Regions from separate parts of the Homo sapiens genome. Here region 1 is linked to region 2. The links are contacts of gene promoters, found by promoter capture Hi-C in blood cells and fetal thymus (Javierre and others, 2016). All regions are on one chromosome and are shown on one strand. Each heading gives the region's core, a stretch centred on a gene start or on the middle of the fragment in contact. The rest is flanking DNA. Distances are from core to core; before and after follow the strand shown. Region 1 holds the start of CARMIL2 (capping protein regulator and myosin 1 linker 2). Region 2 holds the start of AGRP (agouti related neuropeptide).

Region 1 (5,817 bases), core at 3,060-5,559, 160 kb after region 2:
AACTAGGCTCAAGCAATCCTCCTACCTCAGCCTCCTGGATAGCTGGGACTATGGGCCATGCCATCACACCTGGCTCATTTTTGTTTTTTTTGTTTTTTTAGGGTTTTTTTTTTTTTTTTTTTTTTTAGAGATAGGATCTTGCTATGTTGCCCAGGCTAGTCTCAAACTCCTGGACTGAAGTGATCTTCCTGCCTCAGCCTCCAAAAGTGCTGGATTATAGGCATGAACCACCATTCCCAGCCACCTAAGCATATATAACCTCTTTGCAGAACAATGAGGCTCAGTTTTTCTGTATCTTCATTCAACACAGCCTGTCATTCCTGATTGTATACATTCTGTTTGAAAGGTTTTTGTTTGTTTGTTTGCTTGTTTGTTTGTTTTGAGATGGAGTCTCGGTCTGTTGCCAGGCTGGAGTGCAGTGGCGTGATCTCGGCTCACTGCAACCTCTGCCTCCCAGTTTCAAGCAATTCTCCTGCCTCAGCCTCCCCAGTAGCTGGGAATACAGGCACGCACCACCACACCTGGCTAATTGTATTTTAATAGAGACGGAGTTTCACCATGTTGGCCAGGATGGTCTCAATCTCCTGACCTCATGATCCGCCCGCCTCGGCCACCCAAAGTGCTGGGATTACAGGCGTGCACCACCATGCCCGGCCCTCTGTTAGAAAGTTTAAAAGTTTAAAAGTAGCCTCCCAGCTACTTGGGAGGCTGAGGCAGGAGAATTGCTTGAACCCGGGAGGCGGAGGTTGCAGTGAGCCAAGATTGCGCCACTGCACTCCAGCCTGGGTGACAGCGAGACTCCGTCTCAAAAAAAAAAAGTTTAAAAGTGGATTTGTTTTAGCTGGAGAGGGGGCAAGAGAATTGACATCCTGATGGAGTTAAGGCTGAAAAGGGATCCTCCTGCTGCATAGCCCAGGATGCATCCTGTCTGTCCCTTAATTATAAAACATTCAGCAGCAGAAGCCAGTTGTGTTACTGCTTCTGTTGACAGGGAAGTTCCTGAACCTGCATGCAGCTCCCTCAGTGTTAAGCCACAGAAGTAAAGAACCTTTGCCCCTTTCACCCCTAGGCTGGCATCACCCTATTGCTGCCCAGCTCAGCAAGTACCTGAACCCTTCTCTGACTTGTCAGGACCTGGTCTTTGAAAATCATCTGTGGTGAGCCTTATGGCAGCACCAAGGGGGCATAGCCCGGCCCACCTGGGAGGCAAGTCTCGCCCTCAGCCTGTGCTACCCAGAGCAGGCGAGGCTGATGCTCTCGGGAGCTTTGACATTTCCTGAATGCCCATGGAGTGGCATGCCATCCAGAACACAGACGGGCTTGAACAAGCTGACAGCTTCTCACTGAGTCACTGTCACTTGTAAGAACCGAGTCCCATGTGTTCACTTGGTCTCTGAGATCAGGTTTGCTGTGTTACTACCTCCCTGACCACCATCAGCCACGTGGCTAGCCCTGCAAGCCTGTCCAGATCTCTTAGTTGTCCCTGCCTGCCCCCATGTGCTCACACACACAGGGACTGGCCCCACTGGCATCGCTGCAGCCTCCAGAGGCCCTCCACCTGGGCATGGCTCCAGCCCTTTTGGCAGTCACTCTCATTTCTCTCTCCTCCTTGTCATTCTAAACAGAAAAATCCCAGTGAGGTGGATTTTCTGCCATTCTGTTTTGGAATCCCTGGGTTGTCATGGTAGACTTGGCAAATGTGAGTGTTATCTGAGTGCCAGGCACTGTTGCGGGCACTTCCCTTAATAAACATTGAATCCTTTGAGCAAGGCTTGAGGTTAGTTAATAGCTCCGGCTTACAAACAAAACTGGAAGACCAGAAAGGCTAAGCAATGTGTTCAGTGTCAAAATCTAGGCAGTGTGCCTGCAGAACCTGCTTTTTTTTTTTTTTGAGACGGAGTCTTGCTCTGTCGCCCAGGCTGGAGTACAGTGGTGAGATCTTGGTTCACTGCAACCTCTGCCTCCTGGGCTCAAGCAATGCTCATGCCTCAGCCTCCCCAGTAGCTGGGACTACAGGTGCCCACCACCACGCTTGGCTAACTTTTTGTATTTTAGTAGAGACAAGGTTTCACCATGTTGGCCAGGTTGGTCTCGAACTCCTGAGCTCAGGCGATCCACCTCGGCCTCCCAAAATGCTGGGATTATAGGCATGAGCCACTACACCTGGCCAGAACCTGCATTCTTGGTTCCTTGGCAGTACTGTGTGAGACCTACTGAATTGTCACCCTACAAGCAGTTTGAGGGTTCTGTGTGGTCTTAGAGCCTTAGATCTTAATCCAAATTATGTCTCTTCGTGGCCAGGCATGGTGTCTCACGCCTGTAATCCCAGCACTTTGGGAGGCCGAGGTGGGCAGATCACCTGAGGTCAGGAGTTGGAGACCAGCCTGACAAACATGGTGAAACCCCGTCTCTACTAAAAACATAAAAATTCCCTGGGTGTGGTGGCACATGCCTGTAATCCCAGCTACTTGGGAGGCTGAGGCAGAAGAATTGCTTGAACCCAGGAGGCAGAGGTTGCAGTGAACCAAGATCGCCCTACTGCACTCCAGCCTGGGCAACAAGAGCGAAGCTCTGTCTAAAATAATAATAATAATAATGATAATAATAATAATAATAATTAGCCCAGGCATGGTGGTGGGCACCTGTAATCCCAGCTACTCGGGAGACTGAGGCAGGAGAATTGCTGGAACCTGGGAGGCGGAGGCTGCAGTGAACCAAGATCGCCCTACTGCACTCCAGCCTGGGCAACAAGAGCGAAGCTCTGTCTAAAATAATAATAATAATAATGATAATAATAATAATAATAATTAGCCCAGGCATGGTGGTGGGCACCTGTAATCCCAGCTACTCGGGAGACTGAGGCAGGAGAATTGCTGGAACCTGGGAGGCGGAGGCTGCAGTGAGCCAAGATTGTGCCACTGCACTCCAGCCTGGACCACAGAGCAAGACTCTATCTCAAAACCAACAAACAAACCAAGTATGTCTCTTCAATCGGGGAGGCAGCAGGAACTCTCTGTGCTGCATCTTCTGCAGCTGACTCCTCCTTGTCACCCTTAGCTGTCATTTCACCTCCACCTTGCTGAGCTATGGGCAGGGTAGACTGCTGTTCCTTACCGCTTAAGTGGAGTTTAGATTGTAATAGAAGAAAAAAAATGCAGTCTCTTCCTGTGAACTTTCCAGAATCTAGGTCCTGGTCTTTGAGAGGGCAACAGGCTACCAGGCCCCACCCTATGACTGTCTGACCCCTCTCAGCCCTGGAGACACTGGCTTATTTCTCTCTCTCTGGCTGCCCCCTCCCAAACTCTCTCCAGCCTGGGGAGAAGGCAGACACAAGAAGACCCTCATGTACCTGGACGACTCACTCCGGCCCTCTATGAAGTGCTTGGGGTTCAGGGCTCACCTTAGCCCCAGGCTTCCCCCCGAAGGCTCCGGGTACACCCTCACCTTCGGCCCTGACCCCACCTCTGCGGCAAGGAAGGGCGTCTGGACCCATCAGGCTGTTTTTTTTTTTTTTTTTTAGACAGGACCTGGCTTTGTCACCCAGGCTGGAGTACAGTGGTGCGATCTCCGCTCACTGCAAACTCTGCCTCCCAAGCTCAAGTGATCCTCCCACCTCAGCCTCCCAAGTAGCTAGGATTACAGACACACGCCATCACGCCGTCTAATTTTGTAAATTATTTTGCAGAGACAGGGTCTCCCTATGTTGCCCAGCTTGGTCTCGAACTCTTTGGCTCAAGCGTTCCTCCTTCCTCGGCCTTCCAAAGTGCTGGGATTACAGGCGTGAGCCACCGCGCCTGGCCCCATCTGACATTTTTTCCCACCCATTCAAAATCTCTTGGATCCCTAACAGGGTCACGGACTCCAGGTTCGGAGCAACGGGCAGGACCTCCGGTGTTGGCAGAATTCGGGCGCTCCTTGCTGAACAGTCCCCCTTCTGCCAGGCGCCTCGTCCACCTCCGCAGCCTGGGCTTTGGAGGGGACCAGCCCCGGTGGGCCGCGGGGATCCCCAGGCAGGCAGCGTCCCCTGGTGTTCGCGGCAGGGACTGCGGGGCGGGGTGGAAGCCGGGGGCAAGGACCCGCTGGAGGCCCGCCACACCCGCGACCCTCCCGGCCACGCCACTGCCCACCCCGACGTCTACCCTGGCGGAGAAGCTCCTGGGCGACGGGGCGGGCGGGCAGGTGGGACTCGGCCCCCCTCCCACAACCCCGCTCCCGGGCAAGCTCTCGAGCCGCGAGGCCGGGGCGGGGAGGGGCCGGGCCGGGGGCGGCCTGGCAGGAAGCGGCGCGCACCTTCCGCCGCCGGAGGAGCAGGTGGCTGCCGTGCGGGTCTGGGCCCCAGGCTTCCTGTGTGCGCGCTCGTCCTCTGCTGTTTCCCGCCGGAGCTCGTTGGGCCTCCCCGGCCCGCCCGGCCCATGGCCCAGACCCCCGACGGCATCTCCTGTGAGCTCCGAGGTAAGCGCTGGCCCTTCCTGCCTTCTTGGCCGGGAGGAAGTAGTGCAGCCCCAAAATCAGAGGCCCACCCAGCGCCCCAGAGGGCCTGGTCAGAGGTCCTCCCTGCTCCCCAGGAGGGCAGGCGCCCCAGATCCTCTCCCCTCCTTCCTCGCTGGCCGCAGATAAGCCCCAGGGCCCCAGCCTGGCACAGACTGTGGGCACCAGTGGCTTCTGTGCAAGGACTGAAGTCACCCAGCAGGCTGCCCTTCCACAGGCGAGATCACCAGGTTCCTGTGGCCCAAAGAGGTGGAGCTGCTGCTGAAAACCTGGCTACCCGGGGAGGGTGCTGTGCAAAACCATGTCCTGGTATGGGGCAGGGGACAGAGCCGGGGAGGCGGCTGTGGCCCCACAGAAAGAGCCTCTTGCTCTGCCCAGGATATCAGACTGTCTTTCCCCAGGCACTGCTACGATGGAGAGCCTACCTGCTGCACACCACCTGCCTCCCGCTGAGGGTGAGTCCCAGGGCCTGGCCACACCCCCGCCCGCCAGCAGCTACCTTGGCAGGGGGCTGCATCTGCAGAGTGGTCCTTCTTGGCCTTGTGGGCCCTGACTTTGCACCAGCACTGGGCTCTGGGCAGCCGACAGGAGGGGAGTCCAGGCAGATCTGGCTCTGCCCCAGGCTGCCCAAAGGACTGGACTTCCATGAGGGCGGGGCTGGGGGCTTGGTCCCAGCTGATCTAGGCCCTTTCTAGGTGGACTGCACGTTCAGCTACCTGGAGGTCCAGGCCATGGCGCTGCAGGAGACACCCCCTCAGGTGAGACACCTAGTACCCTACCTGGGCCTGCAGCCTGGTCTTCATGCTACCACCATCACCTGCGCCCATGTGTGGAGCCGAGGCCTAGTAGTGCCCCTTCCCTAGGTCACCTTTGAGCTGGAGTCCCTGCGTGAGCTGGTCCTGGAGTTTCCTGGTGTGGCCGCCCTGGAACAGCTGGCCCAGCACGTGGCTGCAGCCATCAAGAAGGTCTTCCCTCGCTCGACCCTTGGGTGAGGCCTGGCAAATTCGAGGGGCTGGCAGGGGAGGAGGGAGTGCATGAGAAGGGCTGCTTCCCATCCCAGAGGCTGGAAGTCCTTTGCCCCCTTCTCCTTAACCCCCTACCAGGAAGCTATTCCGGAGGCCCACACCAGCCTCCATGCTGGCTCGGCTGGAGAGAAGCAGCCCCTCGGAGTCCACTGACCCCTGCAGCCCCTGTGGTAAGGGTGAAGGCAGAGCCACAGGCCTTCCAGCCTGCCCCACCTCTGCCTCCCCAGACCCGCAAGCTGGGGGGGCCCCAAACTGAACAGAGCCATTCAGGTCCCAGCCACCACCTAGTCTGTGGGTCTGGTCT
Region 2 (5,912 bases), core at 1,255-3,754:
TAGCCATTGTCCACGTTAAAGTAAAGCTCCGGGAAGAACGACATGGCTGCTGCGGGAGCGGCGGGACCGGAGAACCAGGACCGGCCGGCACGAATCGCGACTCCCCAGGTCAGCTGACGCTGCGTCCTCAGCGGGCTGTCAAGTGCGTCAGGTGACGCGCAAGCGCCTCACGTGACCATAAGGGGGCGTGGCTCTGAGCGGTGCCCGGCTTCCGGGTGGCTGCGCGGAAGCGCGGTGCAGGCGTGGGCTGGCCCTGCGGCGCCTGCGCGCTAAAAAGAGGAAGTTTGAGGCCGGCCGCTTGGTGGCGCCTGTGGCCGCAGGGATTTGACTGGGCCTTCTCTAGCTTTCCCCGGTTTGCTGCACTTGACGCTGCAGGGCGGGCGGGGTAAAGAAGGGAGCGAGCCCTTCTCAAGCTTGGAAAGTTTCCAGACTGCTGGGCCAGCCTCCTCCCCAGAGGGAAACTGAGGTCCGATTGAGGTAGGAGAATAGGGTCTGGAGGCGGGGAACTTGAGGCCAATACGTGCTGAATTCTGAAGCTGAATCAAGGGAAAACACCAAGGTCTGGGGGCAGGGAACCGGAGGCCAACTAAGGCGAGCTTACTAAAGCTAAACCAAAAAGAAAAACCCCATCTCCCCATGTCCAAGTAACAAAGGATCAAAGGCCACTGTCCCCACAACCCTCCCCCTTCCACCACGTCTCAGTTGAAAGGGAGAGTGCCTTGGATTGGCTGCGGGCCAAGCACGGGCCATCCCTTCATCTGCATAGGGCGCCAATTCACCTTAGCCCCATTTATGCCTTGTGTTCCATTATTGGAACGCTAAGCATATGGGAGTTATTTATATCCTACTGCTCAAGGTCATGGCCAAGGTCTGATTGCAAAAATTCAAAAAGATTGCAACCTCAGGCATAAATGGATTAATTAGCCATGGACCAAACCCTTCATCCAGATAAGGGGTAACGGACAGGGACCGCAAAAGGAGTACTTAAAACCCGGAAAACTTTGTAACTGAGCCCCTTCAGCCTCTTGCTCAGGCCCACTCCCACCCTGCGTAGTGCTTTCTCGCTTTAACAAATCCCAGCTGTCTGCTTCCTTCCTGTGTGTCATTCGTTTGTTACTTTCTGGGTTTTGTTCAATTCTTTGTTCGAAACGCTAAGGACCTGAACAACGCACACTCCTGGCCTTCCCTCTGGTAACAGGATGAGGGGCAGGCTTTGCGTGGAAGTAGCAGCAAGCCCTGGAGCCTAAGGCTTATTTGTTAGCCAGGAGTGATAGCCCCTGTGCCACGCTGCGTCCTGCGTTCCCCGCACTTGCTGTACAAGATTTTCGAAAGCTGGAGTGCGGCTCTTCTCTATTTTTCCCAGGGGCACCAGGACCCCTAAAAGCGCCCGTGTATGTGCCTCCTATGATAGGGTAGCCCAGGCCCTGGGATAAGAGTATGTGTGGTTTCTTGGCTTGGTGACACTCCCACCCCCTCCATGAACCCTCCCTCCTTTGACGGCCACGTTTGAAATAACCACAGCCTTGGGGTTGGTCCCATCCTTTATTCGAGTTTCCTTGCCCCTACCCTAGCCCCGACCCTGACGTTGGCCAGCTAGGTGCGGCTGCAGGGATTCATGGCAGTACCCAGCTTGCGGCAGTAGCAGAAGGCATTGAAGAAGCGGCAGTAGCACGTGGCACATGGGTCACAGCAAGGCACCTGCTGTCCCAGGCAGGACTCATGCAGCCTTACGCAGCGACGTGAGGAGCGGGGCTCGCGGTCCTGCAGGTCTAGTACCTGCAGGGGTGGGGAACCAGCACAGGCCTCTAAAGACAGATCCAGGGATCTTACCTGTCCCAACCTGTGCAGGATGGCAGTGGAGCATGGGAAGGGGTGGTCGGTAGTGTCGTCGCTGGTGAGGGAGTTTGGAGCTGGGGAGAGGAGCTAATACCCAATGCCCCCTCCCAAGGGCCACCACCTTACCCTTTTCCCTGAGCAGTTACCTCTGCCAAGGCCTGAGCCTCCTGCAACAGATCCTCTTCTGCCTGTTCTGCAGTTGTCTTCTTCAGTGGGGCCCGCAGGCCCAGGCCTGGGGCAGAGGATGTGAGGGCAGGAACCCCCATGCACAAAGCACCCACCTCCCAGGGGAGGGTTTGGGAAGGGAGAAAGAGGGTTTATGCCAGGGGAGACTATTTGTGGCCAGAGGGTATTCAGGCCCCGCCCAGTCCCACCCTTGCTCACACTGACCTGGGAGCTCTGGGAGCAGGGCCTGGTCAGGCCTTCTGATGCCCTCCATGGGGGCCAAGCCCATCTGGGCTCCTCGCGTGGCAGGCAGTGCCAGCAGCAGGGCACAGCTCAGCACCGCTGCGGTCAGCATGGCCTGGCTCAGCAGGAAGATGTACCACTTAGTCCCTCCTTATCCTTGGAGTCCCCTCTAGGTGCCCAGATAGAGACCCCACAGAGAGGAGGAGTCCCTGCCCAACCTGAGGACTCACCTCTGCCTCCGGGATTCTTGCCTAGAGAGTTCCCGGCCACCCCGTGCCCTTGGCTTATATGGCAGGGCCTAATGAAGGGCCACACGTGACTGATCCCTGCAGCCAGGCCGTGAAGGACCCTTCCTGGAGGGTGGGGGCACAGTTCAGGCCCTCACTCCCTGAACCTGAGCCTTTTGTTCTACAAGAGGAGTGCCTATCTCCAATTTGGGGTGAGGTTTCCAGGAGCCGATTAAAATTTGGGAGCAAGAGAGGGTGCCCAGGGTCCACAAATTTCCACAGGACAGGGACCTAGGAGCTGAGCAGGGCTAGAACCATTAGCAATAACAAGGCAGGCGGCCCTGAAAGCTTAATTTAATTTGTGGCCCCAGAGATGCTTACTCAACCCCTATGTGGCATGTTGTTTCCTGTGCTTCCAAGAATTCGGGTCAAGGACATTGGAGCGGGTGATGGGCCAATGGCCACTGTTGGGCAGGGGTAGGTGCAGAACCAGAACCTGGGTTTCTTTGGAGGGAAAGGGGAAGGAAAAGCCCACCTAACCAATCCTAGGCCCTCCTGACTACATTTCTGGTCCTCCCCTCCCTTTCTCCCTCCAGGTTTCTCCAAGACCGCCCACTCCTGCTCCTGTCCCCAAACCCCTTTCTGCCTAGGGTTCCTGGAAGCCAAGGAAACAGAACGAACTGTTCCCTGGGTGGGCGAGCCACTGCAGAGTACAAAGCTTTCAGGCCGCCTGCCTCATTAGCACTAATGGCTGCTCCCTTCCGCCCTGTGTCGTCAGGACTGTCTATGCCTGGTCTCATCAGCACAAGGCTGGGGTAAGGACTGCCCTTTTGTGGAGATGGCAGGACATACAGGACCCTGCTGCCCCTGCCTTCCCTCACCCCACTGCAGAGCTGTTTATCACACACGTGTCCATCTGGGAAAGGAATGCAGGCTGAATCAGCTTTGAGAGGATCGCAAGGCCCCAGTGCACAAACTGGGTTGGCACAAGGCAGTGGAAAAAAGATGAAGGGGGCCAGGTATGGTGGCTCACACCTGTAATTCCAGCATTTTGAGAGGCCAAGGTGGGAGGATCACAAGGCCAGGGGTTTAAGACCAGCCTGGGTATCATGGTGAGACCCCGTTGCTACAAAAAATAAAAAAATAGCTGGGTGTAGTGGTGCATGCCTGTAGTAGAGGCTGAGGTGGGAGGATGGCTTGAGCACAGGGATTCAAGAGTGCAGTGAGCTATGACTGCATCACCACACTCCAGGCTGAGCGACAGAGCAAGATCCTGTCTCAAAAAGAAAAGAAGATAAAGGGTGGCCAGGCACGGTGGCTCACGCCTGTAATCCCAGCATTTTGGGAGGCCAAGGTGGGCGGATCACTGGAGGTCAGGAGTTCAAACCAGCTTGGCCAATATGGTGAAACCCTATCTCTACTAAAAATACAAAAGTTATTCAGGCATGGTGGCACATGCCTGTAATCCCACCTACCCGGGAGGCTGAGGCAGGAGAATCACTTGTAACACGGGAGGCAGAGACTGCAGTGAGCAGAGATCGCACCACTGCACTCCAACCTGGGTGACAGAGTGAGACTCCATCTTAAAAAAAAAATGCTATTTAAAATGAAATGAAGCAATCCATACTCCCAACATTTATATATACTGGGACATCCAAGAAATTAAAATCACACCTCATTATGTCTTTTTCTTTGAGTCAGGGTCTCACTCTGTCACCCAGGCTGGGCCTGGTCAGCACCCATGCTATGGAGAGCTCTTCATGGTCTGGTGTGGACAGAGTGGGAGTGGAAGATCTCCTCCCACACAGGTGCTCAGTGTCTTACCTCACCTACGGGCAGCAGCTGTCTTCACCTGAGTGTGTGCACACAGGTGTATCAGCCCCATGGGCAGTGATGGACGAGGGCTGAGGCACTCACAGGGCAGCCCATGCCCCGGTCAGGTCCAGTGGGGGAGATATCAAGAAAACCCAGCGCCAAAATGCAATGAGCTGTGATCGCGCTACTGCACTCCAGCCTGGGCGACAAAGCAAGTTGCCGTCTCAAAAAACAAAAACAAAACTAAACAAAAAAAAAAAAACGGCCAGGTGTAGTGATTCACACCTTCTTGAGCCCAGGAGTGGCAACATAGTGAGACTCTGTCTCTACCAAAAAAAAAAAATTTAATTAGCTGAATGTGGTGATGCACACCTGTAGTCCCAGCTACTCAGGAGACAGGGAGGAGGATAGCTTCGGCCCAGGAGATTGAGGCTGCAGTGAGCCATGGTGGTGGTGGCTCACGCCTATAATCCCAGCACTTTGGGAGGCTGAGGCAGGCAGATCACTTGAGCCTAGGAATTCGAGGCCAGCCTGGGCAACATGGCGAAACCCAGTCCCCATTAAAAAAAAAAAAAAAAAAGGCCAGGTGCGGTGGCTCACGCCTGTAATCCCAGCACTTTGGGAGGCCGAGGTGGGCAGATCACAAGGTCAGGAGATGGAGACTATCCTGCCTAGCACAGCAAAACCCCATCTCTACTAAAAATACAAAAAAAAAAAAAATTTAGCCGGGCGTCATAGCGGGCACCTGTAATCACAGCTACTTGGGAGGCTGAGGCAGGAGAATGGTGTGAACCCAGGAGGCAGAGCTTGCGGTGAGCCGAGATCGCGCCACTGCACTCCAGCCTGGGTGACTGAGCGAGACTCTCTCAAAAAAAAAAAAAAAAGTTTCACAGCCGGATGCAGTGGCTCACGCCTGTAATCCCAGCATTTTGGGAGGCCAAGGTGGGCAGATCATGAGGTCAGGAGTTCAAGACCAGCCTGGCCAACATGGTGAAGCCCCATCTCTACTAAAAATACAAAAATTAGCTGGGCATGGTGGCACGCACCTATGATCCTAGATACTTGGGAGGCTGAGGCAGGAGATTTACTTGAACTGGGACCCAGGAGGCGGAGGTTGCAGTTAGCTGAGATCGTGCCACTGCACTCCAGCCTGGTAACACTCCAGCCTGGTAACAGAGTGAGACTCCATCTCAAAAAAAAAAAAGTTTCACTATGTGGGTAATTTTACGGTAAGGAACCAGCCTGATATTCCCAGGACAATGCTTGTTGGCAAAAGGACCTTCAGAAATATGTGGCATGTTCTGGGAGGAGGATTTGGGAAACCCTGGGGGAGGCAGAGCCTCCTAAGTGAGGGTGTGGGCCCGGAACACAGGGACTCTGTGCAGGGAGGAGAAAGGGGAGAGTGTGCATGCTCGTTCCAGAGACCACATGAGGACAGAGAGGGGTGCTCAAACCCTCTCCCTTCTCTTCTTTTTCCTCCTGCAGTGTACTCCCCTTCAAGGGCCCTGTTCCCACCTTGTCCAGGGGAGAGGGTGGGGGGTGCAGGGAAAAACTGCAAGCACCCGTGGCTCTGTCAATCAGGGTTGATTTTGAAACCCCTACCCAGCCCATTGCCCCTGCCCCAGA

Evidence for each region. The method cuts DNA at HindIII sites, captures the fragments that hold promoters and counts their contacts. A CHiCAGO score of 5 or more calls a contact.
Region 1: the fragment with the promoter of CARMIL2 here is called in contact with the fragment with the promoter of AGRP in region 2 in 8 of 17 cell types (total B cells, naive B cells, endothelial precursors and 5 more); the score reaches 9.5 in total B cells.

The regions. Positions count from the first base shown.
Region 1 is chr16:67,640,835-67,646,651 of GRCh38, forward strand. CARMIL2 (capping protein regulator and myosin 1 linker 2) reads left to right here and starts at 4,310. Exons shown (of 38, transcript NM_001013838.3): 1 at 4,310-4,452; 2 at 4,706-4,797; 3 at 4,890-4,943; 4 at 5,184-5,246; 5 at 5,352-5,476; 6 at 5,592-5,683. The coding sequence starts at 4,413. RefSeq lists a silencer at 4,004-4,393. The HindIII fragment of the contact is 10,344 bases long and covers 1-5,817 here.
Region 2 is chr16:67,481,043-67,486,954 of GRCh38, forward strand. AGRP (agouti related neuropeptide) reads right to left here and starts at 2,505. Exons shown (of 4, transcript NM_001138.2): 1 at 2,475-2,505; 2 at 2,227-2,359; 3 at 1,983-2,068; 4 at 1,529-1,776. The coding sequence starts at 2,356. The coding sequence ends at 1,594. It overlaps ATP6V0D1-DT (ATP6V0D1 divergent transcript), which reads left to right and starts at 352. Exons shown (of 4, transcript NR_184227.1): 1 at 352-477; 2 at 3,068-3,286. It overlaps ATP6V0D1 (ATPase H+ transporting V0 subunit d1), which reads right to left and starts at 115. Exons shown (of 8, transcript NM_004691.5): 1 at 1-115. The coding sequence starts at 44. RefSeq lists an enhancer at 66-115 and a silencer at 226-395. The HindIII fragment of the contact is 2,406 bases long and covers 412-2,817 here.